Linked DNA regions of Homo sapiens: all the other regions are linked to region 1. The links are contacts of gene promoters, found by promoter capture Hi-C in blood cells and fetal thymus (Javierre and others, 2016). All regions are on one chromosome and are shown on one strand. The core of a region is centred on a gene start or on the middle of the fragment in contact, and the rest is flanking DNA. Distances in the headings are between cores, read along the strand shown. Region 1 holds the start of MED7 (mediator complex subunit 7). Region 2 overlaps SAP30L-AS1 (SAP30L and GALNT10 antisense RNA 1). Region 3 overlaps GEMIN5 (gem nuclear organelle associated protein 5). Region 4 overlaps MRPL22 (mitochondrial ribosomal protein L22). Region 5 has its middle 31 kb from the start of KIF4B. Region 6 overlaps UBLCP1 (ubiquitin like domain containing CTD phosphatase 1). Region 7 has its middle 9.4 kb from the start of UBLCP1.

Region 1 (3,616 bases), core at 404-2,903:
CTGCACTCCAGCCTGGGTGACAGAGCAAGACTTCGTCTCAAAAAAAAAAAAAAAAAAAAAAAAAAAAAAAAGGAAAGAAGGAAATGAGACGTGTCAATATCTGTGCAAAGAGTTCCAGGCAAATGCATTGGCCCCAAGGCCGGGATGTACTTGGCAATTTTGTAGGGCCTGTGATATAGGCCAGGGGAAGGATGTCAGATTTTATTCTAAAAGTCATAGAAAGCCTTGGAGGATTTTGAATAGAGGAGTGATAAGACCGGTCTTATATTTTAAGAAGGTGTGGTAAATAGACTAAGGGAGGACAAAAAATCAAAGAAGTCCAGGTGAGAGATAATGGTGGCATGGCATAGGACCATAGCAGTGGGAACGGTGGTCAGTCATATTTGGAACTTTATTTACTTATTTTTAAATAGATCTAATGCAAAAGGCTGGTATGGTAGTTTCGGTGGGGTATGTGAGAAAGGAGAAAAAGGTGATTCCTTCGATTGAACATTTGCAATTGAGTAAAGTGCAACTGGGGAAAGATGTCTGTCACCACTGGATATGAGGGTCTGAAGTGCAGAGGAAACGGTGTTCCAGGGCCTGCATGTAATCATCCAGCTGATATCTGACTGAGAAGTGGTTGGAGAACTGAGTCCTGGGGCAATCCATTAATCAAATGTGCCAAATGCTGCTGACAGATGGAGTAAAATGAGGACTGGGAACGACCATTGGAAGTCACTGGTGCAGGATACATTGGGGTCAGCGGTGAGGAGAAAAGCTGGATTGGGTTATGCTCAACGTAGATGGATTTCTTCAGGAAATAAATTGATACGTGCGAGGGATTTAAAATGGGGGAGTCCGGAAGTGGTGGTTCACGCCTACAATCCCAGCACTTTGGGTGGCCGAGGCGGGCGGATCACTTCATATCAAGAGCTCGAGATGAGCCTCGCCAACACGGTGAAACCCTGTCTCTACCAAAAATACAAAAAAAAGAAAAAAAAATAGGTGAAACCCCAACTATTCGGGAGGCTGAGGCACGAGAATCGCTTGAATCCCGGAGACTGAAGTTGCAGCGAGCCGAAATCGCGCCACTGCAGTCCAGCCTGGGCGAAAGAGAAAGACTCCGTCTCAAAGAAAAAAACAACAAAAAAACCCTGCATGTCTATATTTTCGAATTTGTATGTAAGACGTCTTAATTGTATGCGTTAAATTAAAAAAGGACAAAAGGAATGGAACTACCAGCAGCGACTAAGTCAGTAAAAGAGTGGTAATGGGGAAGGGGGTGGAATATACGCAGGCGCAATAGCAAGCGTTTCTTTTGGAGGTTATTTTCGTGTCATAAATTTCTAAATTCACGTTAAGTCTTACAAGAGCATGTTAAACATTAAAACATAAGATTGTTTCTGGTCAATAAGGGGTCTATAAAAAATAAAGCAATAAGGTGTCTTGTTCAATTTTATGCCTTAATTCAAAAAGAAACGAAGAAACGGAACCCTCAGCTACGACTTTTAAAAGTCAGTAACGGGTGGATGGGAGGAGTCAAACATACGTAGGCGCAACAGCGAGGGATCGGTCTGAGGCGGAGCTAGAATTTCGTTAAAGGACAGCTCTTACAGCCAATCAAGGACAGAGTCGGTGGCTTCTTCCCGGAGGAGACCGGAAGTTGGTTTCGGCTGCAGAGGGGAAGGCGGCTACCAGTGTAAAGCCAGAGCTGAGGTAAGTGGGCGGCAACGGTTTGGGGCCGCCGCCTGTGTGCGTTTTTTTCTTCCGGACCCCGCAGCTTCCTCTGTGCTGGGCTGGGAACTGGGGAGGCATGGCTGAGTTCGGCCTCCAAAGGCGGTCTTTCGTCTTTCTCTCCCGAGTCTCTCCGAGAGTGCGGTCTCTCCGAGAGCGCGGAGGCCTCGGGGTGGACAGCCTGGAGGAGGGGGCTCTAAGCGTGGCAGTCTCGGGGCTTCCTCCGTGTTGGGACGCCGAGCCGGAGTGGAGGTTGGGAGACCTGGCGTCTAGTCCCCGCGCCGCTGTTTTTCTAAGCTGTGTGGCCTTGGGCGAGTCATTTGCCCTCTCCGGCTCTTTGTAACATGAGAGTAGCCCTCCCTGCCCTTCCTTCTTCTGGGAGCAGTTATGAAACAGCTGAGGTATGGGGGCAGGCGAGGGCGGTAGATCCCAAGCCTAATCGTCAGGTCCATCTGGAGAGGTTTTAAAAGCGACATTCTAGGGCCCATTCACAGTAGACAGAATGAATCAAATCTCTGGGGCTGGGACCCTGGAATGTCTGTCGTCTTCTGGTGAAGCTCCTTCTCCCCCAGTAGAACAAACACTAGATGTTGGATCTTGAGTTAAGAACCAGCTCTGATGCTTGGCTCTGCTTTTATTAAAAATAAGACCTCCATCACCTTTGAAAAGTTCCATCTAGAGAGACAGTAGAGAAAGAAATATAATTTTTGTGATATGCCAGTCCTTATTGTACAGTTAGATGCTTCTCGGCTTAGGGATATAAGAGAGCTTGCCCTTTGGAGCTAAAGGGACCTGGGATAAGAATTCCTGTTGTGCCATTTATTAACCTTTTGATCTGGGGCAACACTTCCCCTCATTGAGACTTCGGATCCTCACTTCTAAAATGAAATTGATAATAGAACTTAATTCGTGGGACCGTGTGGTGGCTCACGCCTGTAATCCCAGCACTTTGGGAGGCCGAGGTGGGCGGATCACTTGAGGTCAGGAGTTCCAGACCAGCCTGGCCAACATGGTGAAAACCTGTCTTTACCGAGAAATACAAAAATTAGCTGGGCGTGGTGGTGCGCACCTGTAGTCCCCAGCTACTCAGGAGGCTCAGGCAGGAGAATCCCTTGAACCCGGGAGGCAGAGGTTGCAGTGAGCCCTGATGGTACCACTGCACTCCAGCCTGGGAGACAGATTGAGCCCTTGTCTCAAAAAACAAAACTAACAACAAAAACCCCAAAAACCTTAATTCATAGAATTGTTAATGAAGATTATGTTACAGAGGCCATAAAAAATGGTACCTGTCATGTAGTTGGCCTTAGGAAAATGGCAGCCGCAATACAGGAATGCACATCGTGTAGGAAAGTACAGAGCAGCACTCCTCACCTAAAAAGGTTTGAGTGGGATGAAACGTGAGCTGTCAAAAATTGTATTTTCTGCCGGGCACGGTGGCTCACGCCTGTAATCCCAGAACTTTGGGAGGTCGAGGCAGGTGGAACACGAGGTCAGGAGATCGAGACCATCCTGGCTAACACGATGAAATCTCGTCTCTACTGAAAATAGAAAACATTAGCCGGGCGTCGTGGCGGGCGCCTGTAGTCCTAGCTACTCAGGCGGCTGAGGCAGGAGAATGGCGTGAACCCGGGAGTCCGAGCTTGCAGTGAGCCGAGATCGTGCCACTGCACTCCAACCTGGGTGACAGAGCGAGACACTGTCTCAGGGAAAAAAAAAATGTATTTTGAAGTACCAGATCACTGTTAATTCTTTGATTTTGGTAATTGTGCTTTGGGTAGAAGAAAACATTCTTGTCACGAGAAAACACACTGAAGTATTCAGGGGTAAAGGAATGAAAAACCAATAAAGCAAATGAAGGAAAATGTTAACATTTGGAGAATCTGAGTGAAGAATATGAAGT
Region 2 (3,616 bases), core at 573-3,072, 2.7 Mb after region 1:
TGAATATACAATTTACATGTGGGGAAGGGGTGAGGTGGGTGGTAGAGGAATAGTCATTTATGCCTTTGTCTCAGTGGATCTGCATTTTTACATAAACAACAGGGCAGAAGAAGCAATCAGATATTCATTTGTCTCAGGTGAGCAGAGGGATGACTTTGAGTTCTGTCCTTTGTCCCACACCTATGAAGATAAGCTATCCATTTACATTGCCAGGGTGAAATTCAACAGAACTGTTTTAGGGTAAAGATCTTGATGCCCACAAGGAATTTCCTTGTGGGCAAATTGTGAGGGAGGTCTGTAGCTTTTTTATCTTTGTAGCTATCTAACTTAGGAATAAAATAAGAGGTAGGTTTGCCTGATGCAGTTTCCAGCTTGACTCTTCCCTTTGCCTTAGTGATTTTGGTGTCCCGAGATTCATTTTCCTTTCACATTGTTCTGAGACTGGAAGTTCTGCAAGGACAGGGAACTGTCTCTATGGCTCATCATAGTTTCCAGTGCCCAGGCACTTGATTAATATTTGTTGAATGGATGGATAGATGGATGATGGATGACTTGGCCTCTGGAATCAAGAGGCAGTACAGCATAATGGTTGGTATAAATCTAGATGTAGTCAGCTTATGCTGGAATCCTGGCTCTGCCACTGACTAGCCTGGGAACCTTGGGAAAATTACATGGCCTTAGTCTGCCATGGTTTCCTCATCTGTAAAATGGGGATGATAGTAACCTCTCGGGATTGTTGTGAAGACTGTCTGAGTTATTAGATATAAACCAACTATTAGATATAAAAGTGCCTTGCACATATTAGGTACTCAATAAATATTAGATACTATTATTGGCTTAATTAGTCATAATTAGGTTTAGCAAGTAACAGAAAACCCAAAAATAAGCTTACATTTTTCTCTCACCTTCAGGAATCCTAGAGGTGATCAGATTGTTTTCCTCAGCATCAGAGACCGAGGCTTCTCTTGTTGCTTTGCCATGTTTGGCTTCCATTCCCAAGGTCGCGTCACTAAGCAAGGTGGCTGCTGGGACTCCCATCTACTGAGGCATTCTAGCCAGGAGGAAGGGGGAAAGGCAGAGGAAGGGCTCACCCTTGCTCTTTAAGGATAGTTCCCAGAAGTTGTAGGTGAGCCTCCCACTTGTACCTCTTTGGCCAGAATTTCGCCATACCTAACGGGGGAGGGGAACATTGGGAAATGTAGCCCTTATTCCTGGTGGCTGTATGCTCAGGTGAAAACAGAGGGCTCTGCTACACGTGGAGATGGGTGGAATGTATATGGAGCCCAACCAGCTGCTCTGCTATACCTCTTTTTAGAATTTCCCCATCTCTTAAATTCTGGGAGTGTGTCTTGGTTAATTTTGGTTCTGTTTCTCTGGAGAACACTGACTAATCTGGGCTGCAAAGACCTGTAGTTTTTTGATCCAGGGACCACTGCAGCCTCAGCATTTTGCCATTTCTCAAGTTTCTGAATTTTTTTTTTTTTTTTTGAGACGGAGTCTCACTCCGTTGCCAAGGCTGGAATGGGGTGGCGCAGTCTTGGCTCACTGCAACCTCCATTTCCTGGGTTCAAACGATTCTCCTGCCACAGCCTTCTGAGTAGCTGGGATTACAGGCACCCGCCACCACGCCTGGCTAATTTTTGTATTTTTAGTAGAGATGGGTTTCACCATGTTGTCCAGGCTGGTCTCGAACTCCTGGCCTTAAGTGATCCACTCACCTTGGCCTCCCAAAGTGCTGGGATTACAGGTGTGAGCCACCGCACTGGCTGTTTCTGAATCTTAACAATGTTCTCTGCAGCTTGCATTGCAAGAACTGGTACTGACTCCAACAGAGTATCACCCAGTCTTTAAAGGAAAGATTTACAGGTTTCAAACCTAGCTCTACATCACAATCACATAGGGAACTGTAAAAAAAATTACAAAAATCTCAGGCCTCATCTCAGACCTCCTAAATAAAATCTTGGTGGAAAGAGTATGAGGCTCTGAAATCTACATTTTAATACACATTAATTTAATCTATGGATGATTCTTAATGCACCTTAAAGTTTAAGACACCCTGCTTTAAAGGTTAAAGTATGTAATAAATCTTCATTGGAGGCAATTACCTCTTCTAGTCTAGCCTACTCACTTTCTTTCAAACATATGTATTTTCTTATATCTACTCTTTTGCTTACAGTGATCCCTGACTTAGACTCACTGGCTGTGAGACTTAGAAAGGGTCTTAGGAAGCCAATCCTTTATTTAAGCCTATCGGATTTGAGTTCAGCAAGGTTGAGCAACAAGTCCAAGCACACACAGTGATTAGTGGCTATTAGGATTGAGAAGGTATATGGTGACAGCATTTGCTGGGATTATCTTTAAAATCTCCTTCCCCCCAAATTAAGAGGTTATACACAATAAGGGGTTATACACAATTTATTTTGCCAAGTTAGGGCAGTTCCCTCTATAGCCTCTACATGCTCCACCCCATGTCTAGGTATTGGCCTTCAGGGCTGGGTACACTTGCATTCTCTCCATATCCTTTCCCTAGCTGATACTAGGTTTCCTTACAACCACCATATGCTAATGTCTCCCGTCAATAAATATCTGAAGACTTGTGTGCAAAACGACAGATTTGAAAGTGAAATAGATTGGTTGCCATTAGCAATATTTGGGAAAAATTCTGGTCTCTTTATTGGGGGAGTAAATCTGTAACTCCAGAAAGGAAATGGGAATAAATATTCTGTAGTGAAGAAATGAATACAGAACAGAAGCTTCTATGATCCTTGTTCTGCTTTGTGTAGGATTTAAGGTTCTTGAAATAGCCAAGTGAATCTGATTTGCTACATTTATACATTTAGGTAATTAATTTACAACAGTTGCTTAAATGCTTAGAAAGGTTTTGCTTTTTAGATTTGTAAGTCTGCCCTATTGGGCATTTAAAGTGAGAAAATCAGGCATATTAAATTGATAATTGTAGTTTTAAGTGTCTAAGGAAATTTGATTAAGGAGGTAAGTCTTATTAAATATTAAGGAGGATTGAATATACTAAACTTAAGAATTAACAGTAATCAAAGAACAAGTGAAAGTGATTGTTCTTATCTTTACACAAGAAATTGCTAGATTTAAAATGGAATAACAAGATTTTGTTCTTATCTTTATACAAGAAATTACTAGATTTAAAATGGAATAACAAGATTTGTAAATTGAACTTAAAGTTTAAGAAAGGCTAGGTTTTTAAATGGACAACTTGAGTCAGTGACTGTAAGATTCCTGTCCATACCCAAACCTACCCCCAGATATTTAAAGGCACAGGTCAATAACTCCCAGTTTTATAGTTCCAGCTGAGACCTCTCCTTTGAACTCCAGACAGCAACACTTCAGCTCCTTGCTTGAGGTGCTCCAGAGGCATCACAGACCAAGATGTTCAAGTTGAAACATTCTCTGACTCCGAATCCAGACTCCATAAACTGTGCCACCTGTACCTCCTTTAACTGCCTCTCACCACATCCTGAGGCCACTCATCATTGAGGCCATTTTCTTTCTTTCTTTCTTTCTTTTTTTCATATTTTTGAGATGGAGTCTCGCTTTGTTGCCAGGCTGGAGTGCAGTGACGCGATCTCAGCTCACTGCAACC
Region 3 (3,616 bases), core at 475-2,974, 2.2 Mb after region 1:
TTATATCCTTTACCCAGATTCCCACATTTAATTACATTTGTGTTCTCATGCTATCAGTATGTGCCAGAACTGTCTTTTTAAAGTCATACCTTAAATGTTGAGATTTCCTTATTTCCTTACCCTTTTTTGTGTGTGTGACAGAGTCTCACTCTGTCACTCAGGCTGGAGTGCAGTGGCGTGATCTTGGCTTACTGCAACCTCCGGCCTCCTAGGTTCATGAGATTCTCCTGCCTCAGCCTCCCAAGTATCTGGGACTGCAGGCATGGGCCACCATGCCCAGCTAATTTTTGTATTTTTTAAGTAGAGATGGGGTTTCACCATGTTGGCCAGGCTGGTTTTGAACTTCTGAGCTCAAGTGATCCACCTGCTTTGGCCTCCTTACCCTTTCAAATGAGTATTTTTATTTATTTACTTATTTATTTTTTGAGACAGAGCCTTGTTCTGTCGCCCAGGCTGGAGTGCGGTGGTGCGATCTCAGCTCACTGCAGCCTCCACCTCCTGGAATCAAGTGATTCTCATGTCTCAGCCACCTGAGTAGCTGGGATTACAGGCACGTGCCAAGACTGGCTAATTTTTGTGTCTTTAGTAGAGACAGGGTTTCACCATGTTGGCCAGGCTGTGATCTCGGACTCCTGGCCTCAAGTGATCCACCCCACTTGGCCTCCCAAAGTACTGATTATAGGCATGAGCCACCATGCCCAGCCCAAATGAGCATTTTTATATTATTGCTCATTACTTTTATGGCTAGTATAAAAGTAACATTTAGTTATAAATTGGGTTATATTGTTGATTATATTCCCTCATTGTCTTTAATTTTATCTAAACATTAACATTCAGCAATGAATAAGAGACAAAATTCGTGTTCCTAAGTCTCTTCTAATTTATTGGCACTTGAATGTGTGGATCAGAGGTTCATGCTAGGAGTCTGAGCTGGATATAGAAATTTTGAATCCCTTCACAATAAAGATAGTTGAAGAAGCTGTGGACATGTATGAGGTGGGTTAAAGAGACAATTAACAAGAGAAGAGGGCCCAGGCAGCCTTGGGGAATACCAGCATATAGATATGGGAGGGAAATGATTCAGGGAAAGAAGCTTTGAAGGGATAGAAAACAAGGAGAGTGTATATAGTTTTCTTTAAGGCCTCATGGTCCCCACATTGTCCAAGCTGATGGGCACAGATCAGTTTAATTAAGTATATATTTCACAAGGTTAAGCACTGTAAACATTTAGTACTTATTGGCCTTGGGGGTTTTTTTGTTTTGTTTTTTTGGCCCAGTTAGGAAATGAGAATTAGAATGCATGTTCTTAGTAATCCTTTTACTAATTATGTAGATTATTTACAAGAATAGCTGTTGTATAATTAAAACGTTTTTAAACTCTAGGGATTTTTTTTTCTCATGCTGTCATTGCTGATTTGTGAGATATGTATATAGTCAAGATTGGTTTGTTTTGCTTTCTAGTACAAATTGCCTGTACACACAGAGATAAGTTGGAAAGCAGATGGCAAAATCATGGCTCTTGGCAATGAAGATGGGTATGTATTTGCTTCTTTAAGATAAAAAATTTGCAATCGCACATATATTTGATCACAAGCTGACTAATGCCATCTGTAATGTTAGCTGGGGCGGCCCAGTTGTATTTGGTATTTTGATTTATTCTTGATATCCTCCGCTGATCCAGTAGTGCCTTGTGTCTTTGAGAACTACAGAATTATTTAGATATTTTCAGCCCATTGAGAGTATTTGGCTACACTGTATTTTGGCTGTCTTGTCCCTCACAAAATGGTCACCTCCTATGTTGAACTGCATAAATCTCCATTTTTTTAAAGTAAGCCTAGTCAGAAATGCTTTTTAGGTCTGTATCCTGACCAGTGTTAATCATAGTAACACAGTCATAATTCAGCCATTGATCTGTTAATTATTTTAGCTTCTCCCTATCATCATTTGTCATTAATGCCTGATGAACACAATTTTATCAAGCATTGTTAGAATGCTAGGAGATTGTTACACTGAGGTAGTGTGGAAAGTTAAAATTTCTAAAAATTAATTTTTTTAAGAAAAGAATTGTTAGGATATTGCTAGAATTTTTAAAAGCTAAATATACTTTTTGGAGAATAACTTTTTATACTTGATTTTTTATGAGAGAATGACCTTTGCAGTGATAGAAAGGGTTATCCTTTTCCACCTCATCTTTCCTTGACTGACGGAATGAGGGAGCTACTATTTGCATTGTAACTTGTAATTTGATCATCCATCTTTCTTGTTTTGATGTGTTTCTTATTCCAGATCAATAGAAATATTTCAGATTCCCAACCTGAAACTGATCTGTACTATCCAACAGCATCACAAGCTTGTGAATACCATTAGCTGGCATCATGAGCATGGCAGCCAGCCAGAATTGAGCTATCTGATGGCCTCTGGCTCCAACAATGCAGTCATTTACGTGCACAACCTGAAGACTGTCATAGGTAACTTTGGTTTCTTTCATACTGGGGATGATATCGTTTGTTCAGCTACTTTCCATTCTAATCTTTGTTACTTTTTACTTTATTTTTGACATTATAATAAAATAAGTATTATTCTTACTACTTTTTCTGTTTCAAAAGTGATAGATTCATCTTATTTTAAAATTCTTTCAAACATGACAAAAATGGTAACAGAAAATGAAGTTGGCCAGGCACAGTTGCTCACACCTGTAATCCTGGCACTTTAGGAGGCCACAACGAGAAGATTATTTGTGGCCAGGATTTTGAGACCAGCCTGTTAAATAGTGAGGCTCCGTCTCTACAAAAAATTGAAAATAAAAAACAAATTTGCCGGGTTAGAGGTGCATGCCTTTAGTCCCAGCTACTTGGGAGGCTGAGCTGAGAGGATCATCTGATTCTAGGAGTTTGAGGCTGCAGTGAGCTATATTTGCACCACTGCACCCTAGCCTGGGTTACAGAGCACACCCTATCTCAAAAAAGAAAGAAAAAAAAATGAAGTTTTCCCCTAAAATTTCATCATTCAATAACCAGTGTTATTGGCTTGCTATATATTTTCTCTAGATTTTATAAAGTCATAGCCTACATATGTATACATGTTAGTATATATTAATAGGTTTGCACTTCTGTGTACTTGTGTGAAAGAATAATCTTCTGTTCCTAGCTAAAAATAAATTGCTATATATAATATATAGTGCTTGCAGTTTTTTTCTCTAAATTTACAATATTTATCATGGACATCTTTTTATGTCAGTACACAAGGATCTATCTTGCTGTTATTAACAAATATCTGTCAGCCAGGCGCAGTGGCTCATACCTGTAATCCTAGCACTTTGGGAGGCCATAGTGGAAGGATAGCTTGAGACCAGGAGTTTGAAACCAGCCTGGGCAATGTAGGGAGACCCCACCTATACAAAAAATAAAAATTAAAAAAAAAACAGTTACCTGTTCATTCCATTATATGGGCTTACCATAATGTATCCATTCCACAATTAAATGACATTCAAATTATTTATTTTTTTTTACAATTTAAGTAGTATTACAATAAACTGCCTTATACATAGATCTTCGTGAACATGAATGAATAATTTTTGTATAGAAAATTCTAGAAGTGGAATTGCTAGGTAAAAAGA
Region 4 (3,616 bases), core at 509-3,008, 2.2 Mb after region 1:
GAGACTCCGTCTCAAAATAAATAAATAAGTAAGTAAATATATATACACACAGCAAATATTTCCTATTAGTAGTATTTAGGTAAATACAAATCTTGAAATTGTAACATTAGAAGCCCTCCGCTCCCACCTTCATCACTCTCAGCCAATAAGATTGATGTACAAGGTCAGTTGATCACTTTCCCTAAAGTGATTCACTTTAGATGCCATGAATCACTAAGCAGAGACATTTTATTAGTCCCTGTCCACTTGTTAAGGCCTATTCACAGTATCATTAGTCATCACTATAAGTTTGAAAGGGAAGTGAACTTTCTAAATCTGTGGTCATGCAACACCAGGTATTAGCTTTACACCAATGACAGGCATTTGAAAGAGTTACCATATAATGAGAACATATGCTATCAAAAAAGCACTTCCTTTAAAATGCCTATACTTATTTCAGGGTACTGAAAGAACCATTGCTGAACCAAAATAGTAGCCAATAAGTAACTAGTTTTTCAAAACTCTAACAGAAGTCTATGGAATGAAATGTCTAGGCCTTTTCCAAGAACACAGTAAGATAAATCAGTTTCCCATATTTTATGGTTAAGAATCAATAGTTTATTAAACAACTGATTATTATTAACTTGTTTATTAAATAAACAGCTTCCTAGGCCTCTCCACTGGGGTTTCAAGTCCAGTGGGTCTGTGCCGAGGCCTGGGAATCTATATTTTAAATAACAACCTCAAGATGATTCTTAAGAAGCAGCTTGGCAAATACAGGGATAAAATGTCTGACACATCATACTCTTCCTGAGGGAACTCATCTCTTTTGATTATGGAATTAGGCATCAAAATACTTAGTGAATGAAAAATTTTAAAAATCATAATGTAAATCCAAATTTATTAGCCTTACTTAAGTCATCAACACAGAAGTAGATGAAAAGACAGTACAGGTAAGGCAGAGATTTTTCAGCAGAAATGTGCAAAAGAACTCTGGATTAAAGGGTCAGACAATGTGGCTTATGCCCGTAATCCTAACACTTTGGGAGGCTGAGGCAGTAGGACTGCTTGAAGCCAGGAGTTCAAGACCAGCATAGGCATCTAAGCGAGACCTCTGTCTCTACAAAAAATTTTAAAATTAGCTAAGTGTGCTCGTACGTGCCTCTAGTCCCAGCTACTCAGGAGGCTGGGGCAGGAAGATGACTTGAGACCAGGAGTTCAAAGCTGCAGTGAGCTGTGATCACACCACTGCACTCCAGCCTGAGTGACAGAGCAAGTCCTCATCTCCAAAAATAAAAAAAGATAAAATAAAGGGTCATTTATGTAGGATTGGTTAAGCATGTTTTTGCTTAATGGCAACAGTGGACCCTGCTCCTTCATTTGGAGCAACAGGATTAAGCTCTTTATCCTATCTCTCTTTACTATAATTATTGAAAAGGATTTAAAGACAGTTATTGAAAAAGGCTTAAAGACAAATCATATTTCATTTGTATCTGAAGTCCATTAGAAAGTCTATCAGCTACGAATCTCACATCCCTGTGAAACTGCATAAAATTAATTAAATTTGATTTGATATTCAGAGTCACAGAGCAGGAAGAATCACCAAGAGGTTTTAAGCAAATGGTCTTGCTCCTCATCCCTTCCAATGGTTCCAAGACCTCTCCAACATTATTTATTCATAATGCTCCCAGAAGAAAATGCTTATGATTAACTACCATGGCCCTGCATCTTGGGTTGCCATTTTGATTTCCCTTTGCATCTTTGCATGTATCAAAATAAAATTATACAAGATTCAGCTTTAAAATAAAGCATTTCAACTGAAAATCAACTAATTTGAATTTCAGGAGGTGTGGTGGCCAACATCAATGCCAGGTGAGTTGAACTGAGATTTTAACCTAATCAGCACAGAGGCTATGTGAAAAAGTAGAATTTAGATAATTTTTTTTTTACTCTAATTGTTGAAAAATTATAAAATACAACTAATTCCCCCTGTATTGATTCAGCCCTTTCTCCTCCATCTGGAGAGTAGATGTTCCCCATATCTTGAATTTAAAATAGCTTTAAGTAAAATAATCTTTATATGTTGGTATGGCAGATTGAGAAAACTTTGCTTCAACATCAACATCTTTGTTTGAATATAAAACTGCTGAGGTTAGGAGTAATTGCTGTAGTGAGAAAAAAATAATAACTCCAACCACTGCTCCACTTTCCCATGGTGTTGGGAGGAGGCAAGAGAGCTTTGTAATAAACATTAATCTCCTTCTCAGAAAATAACTGTGTGACGGTCTGCAGCAAAAAGATTCCTTACATTTGTACAGCACATCATGCTTCCCAAAGCATTTTAACTTATATTAATTTAATTTGATGTGGAACAAGCATGTAAAAGCAGAGCTAATGCTTCAGGATGTAGTAACAAAGTGGAACAAACACATCTGGGTCATCTGAGCCTTCCAAGGCCCCTTGGCTTTTACAATTCAACAGACCTTCCATTTTGATAACTGTAAGGTTAAATTACAGGACACCTTTATGGATTAGGCATCTGGCTTGGCACATTATAAATAAAAATTTTTTAAATGCACCTGTGATTATTTACCTCCTTCTGGTTGACAAACAACTTTAAAAATGTGTTAATACTATTTGTTATAATATTACAATTAAAGTACCACTCTATGTACCCCAGTCTTGGTATCTATTATTTAATAATTATTAGCAATTGGCTTTATGATCTCAGTCTCACTACAGAACAGGTAAAACAGTACAGTTATTGTCATTTACACTAAATTAAAATTGGCATGCATACAGCTGAAGAATAAGCCATTACTAGCAATTTTCACTGACAAACCAAGTCCTGAGGAGTTAGATATTAAAGACTGTTGTTAGATAAAAAACATGGCATTACTACTGAAGACATTTTCTAATGCTAAGAATATTAAAAATCTTACCTATATATAAATTGGACCTGAATTCCACGTTATGGTCTCTCACTGCCATATCTTGTGCTTCTAAGAGAACCTTAAATAAGAAAAAGAAAAGCATTTATACGGCTAAACCTGAAGTAAAATGGAATTAAGTTTCTCATCTCTCATTATCTCTGTACTATGACTGCTAATCACATGCTTCCATAGTCAATTTTAAAAAGACAATATCAAATGATAAGAGTACAAAGGAGAAGGGAGCTTTCCTGCCTTAGACCAAGAAGTGTAAATGCATAGAACACAGCCCATCCTACTAAGTTTTAAATGACATGTGTAAGCTATAAAGGAGATAGCGGTGCTTGTAAGCAGTACCCTTGGGAAGGAACATTATGTCTTTGAGTCAGAAACTTGTCAAAAAGTTCCCAAGGCCAGATGCAGTGGTTCACATGTCCATGGTCCCAGTACTTCGGGAGGCCAAGATGGGATGGGCAGACCACATGAGGCCAGGAGTTTGAGACCAGCCTGGCAAACATGTCAAAACCCCGCCTCTACTAAAAACACAAAAATCAGCCAGGTGTGGTAACACATACCTCTAATCCTAGCTATGTGGAAGGCTGAGGCTGGAGGATCACTTGAACCCAGGAGGTGGAGGCTGCAGTGAGCCAAGATTGTACCACTGCACTCCAGCCTGGGCAACAGAGACCCTATCTTAAAAAACAAAC
Region 5 (3,616 bases), core at 649-3,148, 2.2 Mb after region 1:
TGAGCTGGCCATGATGAGTTATTCATAAGAGTTCTCTGCACACCTTCATTGATGGAATTCAAACTGACTAGAAGACTTTTCTTCTGAAATCCTGGCTGAAATATCCAACTGTGACTATCAGGCATCTCAAATTTAATATCTAAAAATGTTAATGTTTTATCACAATGAGGTACCACTTTACATGCGTTAGGATGATGATTAAAGAAAAACAAAATTCTAAGTGTTGGCAAGAAGGTGGAGAAAATAGAACACTTGTGCACTGCTAGTGGGAATATAAAATGGTACAACACTGTGGAAAATGGTGTGGTGATTCCTCAAAAAAGTAAATGTAGAGGCATAGATGGTCAAAGGGTACAAAGTTTCAGCTTGACAGGAAGAATAAGTTTTTGAGATCTATTGCACACCATGGTGACTATAGTTAATAATAATGCAATGCATATTTTTTAATTGCTAAGTGAGTGGGTTTTAAATGTTTATACCACACATACACACAAAAATAAGTATGTGAGATGATGGATGTGTAAATTAGCTTGATTTAATCATCCCATAAGGTACACATATAAGAAAACATCACGTTGTGCTGCATAAGTATATACAATTATTATCTGTCAATTTTTTTTTCTGAGACGCAGTCTTGCTCTGTCACCAGGCTGGAGTGCAGTGGCACGATCTCGACTCACTGCAACCTCCGCCTCTGAGGTTCAAGCGATTCTTATGCCTCAGCCTCCCGAGTAGCTGGGACTACAGGCGTGCACCACCACGCCCAGCTAACTTTTGTATTTTTAGTACAGACGAGGTTTCACCATGTTGGCCAGGATGGCCTGGATCTCTTGACCTTGTGATCTGCCCACCGTGGCCTCCCAAAGTGCTGGGATTACAGGCGTGAGCCACCATGCCCAGCCTATTTGTCAATTTTTTTAATTAAATTTTAAAATTAAGCATAGAATTACATATAATTCAGCAATCCTACTTCTGGGTAAATACCCAAAAGAAGTGGAAGCAGGGGATGGAACAGATGTTCGCACACCCGTATTCATAGCAGCATTATTCACAATAGCCAAGTGGTGGCAGCAATCGAAAGTCCATTTATGGATGAATAAATAAGAAAACTGTGATATGTACATGCAATGAAACATTACACAGCCTTTAAAAGGAAGGAAATCCTGTAATATACTACAACCAGGAATAACCTTGAGAACATTATGCTAAGTGAAATAAGCCAGTCATAAAATGACAAATAATGTATGATTCCACTTATAGGGAGCATCTAAAGCATCCAAGTTCATAGAAACAGGAAGTAGAATGTGGTTGCCAGGGGATAGGGAGAGAAGAGGAATAAGGAGTTATTTAATGGGTACAGAGTTTCAGTTGGGAAAGATGGTAAAGTTCTGGAGATGGACAGTTAATGATGGATGCACAACAAATGCAGTAGAACTGTACATTTAGAGATGGTTAAAATGGCAAGGCTCTTTTTTTCCTTTCCTTTTTTTTTTTTTTTTTTTTGGTAGATAAGGGGGTCTCACTATGTTACTCAGGCTGGTCTTGAACTCCTGGCTTAAGTGATCCTCCTGCCTCAGCCTCCCAAAGTGCTGGGATTACAGATGTAAGCCACTGCATCTGGCCTAAAATGGTAAATTTTGTGTTATGTTCATTTTACCACAGTAAATGAATCTGGGTATTTTAATATCCAGATCTAGTCATCCTCTGATGCTTCCCACCTCAGCATACTGCACATCCATTCACCCTGTGCTCAAGCCAGAGACCTGGGAACCTGCCCTGGAACCGCCACACTCCTGACCACCCCCAGTCAGTGCTGCTGCCTAAATGAATTTCCAGTCAGTCTACTTCCTGTCATTCCCTACCATCTCCCTGGTCCAAGGGACAGTCGTTTCTTACCTGAATTCTTTTTTTTTTGTTTTTTTTGAGACGGAGTTTCGCTCTTGTTGCCCAGGCTGGAGTGCAATGGTGCGATCTCGGCTCACCGCAATCTCTGCCTCCCAGGTTCAAGTGATTCTCCTGCCTAGCCTCCCGAGTAGCTGGGATTACAGGCGCCCGCCACCACACCCAGCTAATTTTTTGTATTTTTAGTAGAGACGGGGTTTCGCTACGCTGACCAGGCTGTGCTGGTCTCCAACGCCTGACCTCGTGATCCACCCGCATCCACCCGCCTTGGCCTCCCAAAGTGCTGGGATTACAGGCATGAGCCACCGTGCCCGGCCAACCTGAATTCTTAAATGACCTCCTACCTGGTTTCTGGCATCAGCTCAGGCCCCACTACCCAAGGCCATTGTCTACCAGAGACCAGACTGAGCTTTTACAGACATCAACCAGGCACTGCCACTCCCCAGCTTCAAAGATTCCCTTTATACTTACAGTGAAATCTGGACTCCTCTCCAAGACCACCTGTCCCGGAAGTCGGTTGACCTATTCGTACCTTGTGCCGCATCCTCCCCCACTCTGTGTTTCTGTGCTTCTCCATACACTCTGCTTTAGTTTCTCCAGTGAACTAGGTTCATCTTCATTTGGGGCCTTTGCCCATGGCACTGCCTTTGCCTGAACATTCTCCCCTACTCGATTTCCTGGCTAATCTCTCCTTGGACTTCAGGCCTCAGCAAAAATGGCACTTCCTCAAAGAGCCCATCACAGATGCCACATTGCTGAAAAGGTCCCCCTGCTATCCCCCAAGCACTCTCTTCTTTTCCTCCATGGTACTTTTTACATGTCTATATTTGTATATTCCTCCCTAGCCAGTGGACTGTCAGATTCCTGAGGTCGGCAACCATGTCTATGTTAATATTCCCAGCACCTAGAACAATATCTGGTGCATAGTAGCACTCAAACATTTGTTGGGTGAATGAACATGTAAAGAAATGCATGTTATTTTAGGTCACCCAAACAATAAAAACTGAAAGTCTTCCTCCTTTAACCAGGTAGCCTCCACCTTTTACTTTCTTAGATACACAGACAGGCCTCTGGACAGTTATCTGAAACTGGCTCCATGTACAGTATTCCATATGTCCTGTCATAACCACTTAATGTTGGTCATATACACTCAAAGGCCCTCTTGCAAAAGGGCCTCAATTTTCCTGAGATGGGGATAAGAGTGATGCTTGTCAAAGACAAGGTAATTGCTTGGGTTGTTTCCTGCAATGATATAAATCTGTTGGCGAGTGCCACACAGCTGTTCCTGTTCCTTGGTTTTTAATGGCATGCTGCCTTCTGTATTAGTGAACAAATTCCTTGAAACAACATGAGATTGGCAATATAGATGGAATATCAAATTAGGACTATGGTTGCCAAGCACTCTGGAGCGGTCCTGATTCCCTACCTAGCAGTAATAATAAACCCCAGCTCCTTCCACAGTTCTTCCACCCTTCTGCAAGCGATGTTCCCCTAGGTAACACTCCTACAAACAATACTTCGGTAATGACCAATGCTACAGTGATTATTATTGTTATTATGGACTCTATTTTATTTTCATTTAATTAGTAATTATTTTAAATTACAAGGCTGAAGAGCTGCTACAATGGGTGTTTCCTGGCAGTCAGTAGCTAATTCTCCATCAATGCAGAAATATGGGCTATTTTGAGTTCAGCCATTAGAGGCTATAGTGATG
Region 6 (3,616 bases), core at 799-3,298, 2.1 Mb before region 1:
TAAACAGCAGGAAATTACAGGGTTGGTGGGTAGTAAATAAGATTTTCAACCCAAGGCTCTGCTAAGTTATTTTTACTTTCCAAACATTTGCTCTTAAGCACTATTAAACAACAAAACTAAAATATTCTAATGATTCTGGTTCTAAAATTTTAAATAAACAAATTAAGGGTGAAAATCTATGCACCTAATTGACTTCACTTGCTCCAGTATAACCACTGTTTACTGTACATTTTTAAAAACTGATCTAAGTGATCACTAAAAGGACAGGAAACCATCATCTTGTCTCAGGTCAAGGAAGCATTTTTAGAAACTTAAGACTGTCTAGATAAGCTGAATTCTCCTATATCATAATTTCCTTGTACAGACAATAAAAATGGAGTTTTCAGCCGATAAACTGCTTTATCCATGACCAAGATTCACATTCTTTTAGTGTAATTCTAAATTCATATTCACAGTACCTTCCATGTACTTCAAACCTTATGACTGACAAGCTTATGTTTAATAGAAGTTAACTATTTTAAAAATGAGCAGTCTTATTTTTAAGATCTACATGAAATCTTTGAGATTTCTACCAAGTGCATTATGAAAGCATGATAACAAAACACAGCATTTGAGGATATTTCTCCATTTTAGAACTCTTTCTGGGCTGGGCGCAGTGGCTCATGCCTGTAATCCTGCACTTTGAGAGGCCGAGATAGGTGGATCGCTTGAGTGCAGGACCTCGAGACCAGCCTAGGCAACATGGCGAAACCTTGTCTCTACCAAAAATACAAAAATTAGCCAGGTGTGGTAACGTGCGCCTGTAGTCCCAGTTACTTGGGAGGCTGACATGTGAGGATCACTGGAGCAAGGGAAGTCGAGGCTGCAATGAGCTCTGATCATGCCACTGCACTCCAGCCTGGGTGACAGAGCAAGACCCTGTCAGAAAACCCCACCTGTTTCTATGCCGACGTGGGCAGATCTTTAATCTTAATCTTAACCTTTAATCTTTAACCTTAAAAGAGGTTTTCATGAAGTGTTATCTTGGGTAGATTAATTTTATAAAAAAGAGGTTTTCAATAAAAGACACACAAGGACAGCCTGTGGAGTGTCTAAATCTACCTCTGGAATTAGAATTTAGGGGATGGGGACATACGTATTTTTAGGAATTCCTTCAGTGGGTCTACTGAGTACAGTCTTTTAAAAACCCTACTGTAAAGTAACATAAAGAACTAGACATTTACAATAACATCTCTCCCTGCATCAAGAGATGAATGGAGCTCAAATGTTGGTTAGGAAAACAAAGTTTCTTTTAAACAAACATGAAACTAATGATTGTATTTTTTTTTTTAAAGTTAAACGTCTCCTCCAAAATTATTCCTTGACCATCATGGGATCACCTCCTTGCAAGAACAGGTAATAACCATTCGTTTCACAAACAATTAGGTTTACATCAACCACATTTCTTCTCAAGACTCAAGAATACATTTTTGTACCTTTACCTGGTGCAGTACATATTAAGAAAAGCACTTCTCTCCAAGCCTTAAACAGAAACCATTAAGGACAACATAACCACTTTTCTTCCAAGTCAACAGTTTTTATACTTATGGCAATTCACTACCTAGATTAGTATTCTTTCCCTAAAATATCCTCATTGTAAACAAAAACTCAAATCAACAGTCTGTAAGAAAGGTTTAAAAAATGTACTTTTAAGTTTTTCTCTCTTGTCTTTTAAAACTACCAAGGACCCAGCTAGTAGAAAAGTTTAGGACTGAGAATGAAAACATCTCAGTGTCAGGACTGCCACTTCGAATGGAGACTCCATGTGCAATAGTGCCATAGTATAGAGCTATCTTTTCCATTTTCATATTGCGCCAACATGTAATCAACTATGGGTACCAGAAACTTTTAAATTTCAAATTTCACTCTTACCAATTTTATACTGTTACCAGGATGAAATGTCACATAAGACTGCATGCAGTTGCATGCTAAGATTGTCACTGACCTAGGAACCAAGTCACTAGAGTCTAACCCAAATTCTGTCATTAGCCAGTTACATATACAATCTTGGGCAAGTCAGGAACTTCTTCAACCTCAGACTGTTTCCAAAGTTAAGAAGGTAGGCAAGAGATGACTGTGGTTCCTTCTAGCTCTGGCAATGTCTAATTCTAAGATCTGTACTTGCCGTCTAGGAATTTTCAAAAACGTCTTTAGTTTCAGTTTAAAAAGAAAAAACAAAGTACCCTTACTGCCATTTCTCAAGCTAACCAGAATGTTTAAAATGCCAAGATTTGTATACCTAAAAAAATAACTAATGATTTCACTTTGGATGCTAAAAGTCAATGTTGGGAAGCCCATGTTGCTCCCACAGAGCTAATTAAAAATAAAACACTTGGGCCGGGCGCAGTGGCTCATGCCTGTAATCCCAGCACTTGTGGGAGGTCGAGGTGGGCAGATCACGAGGACAGGAGCCTGAGATCAGCCTGGTCAACATGGTGAAACCCTGTCTCTACTAAAAATACAAAAATTAGCTGGGTGTGGTGGTGCGTGCCTGTAATCCTAGCTACTCAGGAGGCTGAGGCAGGAGAATCACTTGAACCCAGGAGGTGGAGATTGCAGCGAGCCGAGATCGCACCACCACACTCTAGCCTGGGCGACAGAGTGAGATCCCGTCTCAAAAATAAATAAATAAATAAACAAACAAATACTTGGATGAACTAGCTAACTATGGAGACATCAATGCAAAAAAGACAAAGTTCAATTTCTATATGAATTATTCTTAAACTTTTCTCGCCTATGACATAAGAATACAGTACTTCCAAAAATATATGAAATTCAACAGTGCTTACTACAAAAGTTCTACCACACAGCCCAGATTACATGAGCACATAACAAGTAAAAGTATGTCTTACCTTTAGTCCATTCTGTGGGTTCATTAGAAAATTTCTCCCTATGTCATCAAACATAATGGTGTTTTTCTTGCTGTAAAACTCCGAAAACTTTCCCCATATAACACCAAGAGGCTTTACCTTAGAATAAAAGTTTACATTTAACTCAAATTTTATCAATATTTCATCCTGTCTTAAAAGCAGGAATACTGCAAACTGCCCTGCAGAACAATGCCAAAGTGTTCCTTTCCCCCTGTAAGACAGGTGTGAGCTAATCATTAAATGCAACCCACTTTAAAGCACAATGCATTTTGCAATATTAAAACTTCTGAAAGGTTTGTTCATGTCCAACTGAACTAAACCCATTATAAAACTTTCCATAATTTTAACGTGAAGATTTTGGGTAAAATAAATAAATTATTTAATTTTTTAAAAATCCAAAGTAATTGTTTAGATGTCTGCTATGCAGTCACATGACTTCCTTGGTTAACACATTCCTTCTCAGAGCTTGGGAGTCACATGGAGTCTGCTTTCAAAACTAGAACACCCTAGTCAAAAAAAAACTGTATTTGGCTTTTTCAATTAATAATTTGAATATTTTATAGAGGAAAAACTCGTTTTGTCTTTAACTCAGTGGCACAGGTGCATAATTTCTAGGGAATTTGATTGCTTAACTTCGGAAGCACCATATTTTACAAATTCTTACTCTTATTTCTGAATTCTTAAACTGAAGCTTCAAATAAATAATT
Region 7 (3,616 bases), core at 666-3,165, 2.1 Mb before region 1:
TGGTTGGAGTATGGCAGTGTGTCAGAGGTCTCCAAGAACACTCCCAGGTTCAGCGTTTCATTAGGAGGACTCACAGGACTCAGCGTATAGTTCCTGTCACAAATAAAATGAGCAAAAGGAATAGCCTCGTGGAATGAAGTCTGGAGGAAACCAGGCCCAAGATTCTAAGGATTCTCTCCAAGGGAAATTATACAGAGCACACTTAATTTTGTTAACAGGGAACTGTGACAACAGGCATGAATTGTGTCTACAAAGGAAGATTATTAGAGAATCAGTGCCCTAGGTTTTGGGGACAGTTGATTATTGTATTAGTCCCTTTCACTGCTGCTATAAAGAACTGCCCAAGACTGGGTAGTTTATAAAGGAAAGAGGTGTAATTGACTCACAGTTCCACATGTCTGGGTTGGCCTCAGGAAACTTACAATCATGGCAGAAGGTAAAGGGGAAGCAAAGACTTTCTTCACATGGCAGCAGGAGAGTATGTGCAAGCAGGGGAAATTCAGACACTTAGAAAATCATCAGATCTCATGAGAACTCACTCACAATCATGAGAGCAGCATGGGGGAAACCACTCCGATGATCCAATCACCTCCTACCAGGACCCTCCCTTGACATGTGGGAATTATGGGAATTACAATTCAAGATAAGATTTGGATGGGGACACAGACAAACTATGTCATCATGTAGATACCCACTGTCTTGCACCTATCAAAACTGCAGACTCTCAGAAGGAAAGCAGCTGTGCAGCAGAAGCTACATTGTTTGCCAACAGTCTAGTCTCAGTGAGCCATTCTTATCATTTGGGGAAAGTTTCATATCTGTATAGGAACTGTAGGATGTTCCCAGATGCCAGCCAAAGACCAATCTTGCAAGCAAGAATTTCTAAGGATGGCAGGCTTAGGCCTCCCATGGTAACTTTTCTGCATATGTGGTTATTAACTAAATGTTTTCTGCCTTACCAGGCTGTTCCTTTCCTGGTCCTTTGTCTAGAGACAGCAGGCTTGGGGTAGGGATGGGGGAGTGTTACATGAACCCCCTGGCATTTCTAGGTTGCCTGTATTGCCAGTACGTAGTCTGGGATATATGAAACAAAAAGAAATCCCAAGGAATTTGCTAGCATGTTTTTTAAGGTAAATAGCCAATCTGCCTTATTTCTACCTTCCAGAGTCCCCTTATATTTATTTTACATATACTGTCCAGGATTTTTAGCTATACTTAGCAGAAGAATAGGGAGACGTGCAACTGGAACTGTCTTGGAACTGGAAATCTCTGTATTACTTTTACAATGAGAAAAAAAGGCATTTTTTTGTTTTCGTTTTGAAAACAAAACATATCTATATATGACACAGCAAACAAAACAAAACAAAATAAATGAATAAATATGATATAGCAAGCTTAACCTAAATATAGGGCTGAAAAGTTACCAACAGGAGTGAAAAACATTATCATGACTTGATTCCACTTATTCTAACAGTAAAATGCATTTTCTCTCATTTATAAAAATAACATGTACTCGGCTGGGCGCTGTGGCTGACGCCTGTAATCCCAGCAGTTTGGGAGTCTGAGTTGGGTGGATCACCTGAGGTCAGGAATTTGAAACCAGCCTGGCCAACATGGTGAACCCCATCTCTACAAAAAATACAAAAAATTAGCTGGGCGTGGTGGCAGGCACCTGTAATCCCAGCTACTCAGGAGGCTGAGGCAGGAGAATAGCTTGAACCCAGGAGGGAGAGGTTGCAGTGAGCCAAGATTGTGCCATTGCACTACAGCCTGGGCAACAAGAGCGAAACTCCGTCTCAAAAATACAAAATAATAATAATAATAATATGTACTCATTATAAAAAACTGATTCTACTTTTCTTTGACACAGGTGGTTAATATATTAGTTTTCTTTATTTAGTAAACAAAATGAAAACTTCAAAGTTAGTAAAGATTGCAGGGTGGCAGAATATCTACATTCATTTAATTTCATTATCATTTATAGAGAAGAATATAGAGTAGAAATTTTCCCACAGTCAAAGGGTGGAACAGACCTTCCATAGATGTCCCATGCACAGTTTTAATAGGAACAATAAAATGTGTGCTTCTCTTTTATATCCAAAGTCTTGTGCATTAGAGATAGTATCTTCTTACTTATGGAATAATAATTACAATGTCCCAACCCACAAATTCTAGGCTAATGAAACTATTTCTGAGATGAAAATTTTAGCATAATATATTGCTGCCTAATCACATTCACTATGAAATCTTAAAAAAGAACATCAAATTGTTATGTTGTAGTATTTAACATTATGAAGTAATTTCATTTATTTGTTTTTTTACATCCACAGTGACTCATAAGTGAATAAATTAATATCTCCCATGCTTCAAAAAATATCAATGAAATGTTTAGACAGTTACAATCTAAACATTTACAACACAACAAGGCAAGCTTTGATTACCAATAAGCTATCTGTAATGACTAGGCTACCTTGTTTTATTCATTATGCTTCCAATCTTCAGGAGACATTTCTTTAACAATGTGTTTATTTCCAAAGAGCATTAGACAGGGTTCTAGAAGCAGCCTTGCCTAAAATTGCCCTCCTGACCTTGAGGCAATCAATTTCCCCTGACCTCAATTCCATTTGTAAAAATGAGTTTATTGAATAGCCAAAAGACAAAAAGATAAATACGTTCTGTGTTTCAGAGCCTCTATGGTTTAATAGTTCTCAGACAACAGCCTATGGGCCTGGGCTAGATTTTGACAGTTTCCATCAATCTTCCGTTTGCAAAATGAGAAACATAAGCATCACGTAATCCGTAAAACCAAATGGAAAATTCATGTTCTTCCTCTTTATTGACAGCTATTATTACTTCCCTGATATCTGCATATATCTCTCCTGGAATTTTCAGAGCTTCATCATTCATACTTAAATAAATTTTATAGAAAATTTACATTTAGTATGTAGAATTTTATTGAAAACATCAAAGTAGTAATTTTTTTCTTGCTACTGTATAAATATTACCTCAAGTGACTTGTTTTGAAATATTATTTATGGTTTTAAATAACAGAAACTTAAACATGCTAGCTTGAGCCTAAAGGGAGTTGAGGAGAGGAAGCAGGAGAGCAGTATTAGAAAGAGCACAGTACCAGACACAGTTATGCCTGTCGTTGAACCAGGAGTCAAGGTGAGTCCAAGATCCTCAACAATAAATTCTAGATCCATAGACCTTCTCTCAAGAACACTGCCATTCATATGACTCTGACTCCTAGTTTCTGTATTGCTCAGCTCCAAATTCCAAAATCCTGAGATAGAATCTTATTGGCCTCACTTAGGCCACATGTCCTTCTCTGAACCAATCAGTTCTGCCTAAGGGATCAGGTTCTGCCTGAGCTTGTCCCTGTGTACTGGGGAGGGTTCTCAGGGATGAGACCCTCTCTGTAGGCCTATTAGCCACTCCTGAAGTTATTCTACACTGACAGTTAACAGTGTTAATTACTTTCCTAAGAAGTCTCAATATTACTTTTCCTTATCTCAATATTCTAGTTAATTTATTATTCATTCACCCACTCTATTTTTTAATGATAGTCACATTTTATCCATAAGAAAATCACTCATTTTCTTCCTCTCCATTC

What was found. The method cuts DNA at HindIII sites, captures the fragments that hold promoters and counts their contacts. A CHiCAGO score of 5 or more calls a contact.
Region 2: a contact is called between a fragment that was not itself captured here and the fragment with the promoter of MED7 in region 1, in 1 of 17 cell types (neutrophils). The highest score is 9.4, in neutrophils.
Region 3: a contact is called between a fragment that was not itself captured here and the fragment with the promoter of MED7 in region 1, in 2 of 17 cell types (naive CD8 T cells and naive B cells). The highest score is 5.4, in naive CD8 T cells.
Region 4: a contact is called between a fragment that was not itself captured here and the fragment with the promoter of MED7 in region 1, in 2 of 17 cell types (total B cells and naive B cells). The highest score is 7.2, in total B cells.
Region 5: a fragment that was not itself captured here is called in contact with the fragment with the promoter of MED7 in region 1 in 1 of 17 cell types (endothelial precursors); the score reaches 5.4 in endothelial precursors.
Region 6: a fragment that was not itself captured here is called in contact with the fragment with the promoter of MED7 in region 1 in 1 of 17 cell types (neutrophils); the score reaches 5.2 in neutrophils.
Region 7: a fragment that was not itself captured here is called in contact with the fragment with the promoter of MED7 in region 1 in 1 of 17 cell types (neutrophils); the score reaches 7.1 in neutrophils.

Annotation. Positions count from the first base shown.
Region 1 is chr5:157,140,902-157,144,517 of GRCh38, reverse strand. MED7 (mediator complex subunit 7) reads left to right here and starts at 1,653. Exons shown (of 2, transcript NM_004270.5): 1 at 1,653-1,698. RefSeq lists enhancers at 1,026-1,125, 1,936-1,985. The HindIII fragment of the contact is 9,177 bases long and covers 1-3,616 here.
Region 2 is chr5:154,438,292-154,441,907 of GRCh38, reverse strand. All of the region lies in intron 2 of SAP30L-AS1 (SAP30L and GALNT10 antisense RNA 1), which reads left to right. Among named protein-coding and RNA genes, the nearest start is that of SAP30L-AS1, 5.7 kb to the left of the region's middle. The HindIII fragment of the contact is 1,866 bases long and covers 890-2,755 here.
Region 3 is chr5:154,915,850-154,919,465 of GRCh38, reverse strand. GEMIN5 (gem nuclear organelle associated protein 5) reads left to right here. Exons shown (of 28, transcript NM_015465.5): 12 at 1,462-1,535; 13 at 2,287-2,468. Among named protein-coding and RNA genes, the nearest start is that of GEMIN5, 21 kb to the left of the region's middle. The HindIII fragment of the contact is 1,257 bases long and covers 1,096-2,352 here.
Region 4 is chr5:154,959,355-154,962,970 of GRCh38, reverse strand. It overlaps MRPL22 (mitochondrial ribosomal protein L22), which reads right to left. Exons shown (of 7, transcript NM_014180.4): 6 at 2,922-2,991. Among named protein-coding and RNA genes, the nearest start is that of MRPL22, 20 kb to the right of the region's middle. The HindIII fragment of the contact is 7,858 bases long and covers 1-3,616 here.
Region 5 is chr5:154,980,559-154,984,174 of GRCh38, reverse strand. No RefSeq gene overlaps it. Among named protein-coding and RNA genes, the nearest start is that of KIF4B, 31 kb to the left of the region's middle. The HindIII fragment of the contact is 4,811 bases long and covers 1-3,616 here.
Region 6 is chr5:159,277,630-159,281,245 of GRCh38, reverse strand. It overlaps UBLCP1 (ubiquitin like domain containing CTD phosphatase 1), which reads right to left. Exons shown (of 11, transcript NM_145049.5): 9 at 2,892-3,008. Among named protein-coding and RNA genes, the nearest start is that of UBLCP1, 16 kb to the right of the region's middle. The HindIII fragment of the contact is 3,109 bases long and covers 494-3,602 here.
Region 7 is chr5:159,252,106-159,255,721 of GRCh38, reverse strand. No RefSeq gene overlaps it. Among named protein-coding and RNA genes, the nearest start is that of UBLCP1, 9.4 kb to the left of the region's middle. The HindIII fragment of the contact is 1,037 bases long and covers 1,397-2,433 here.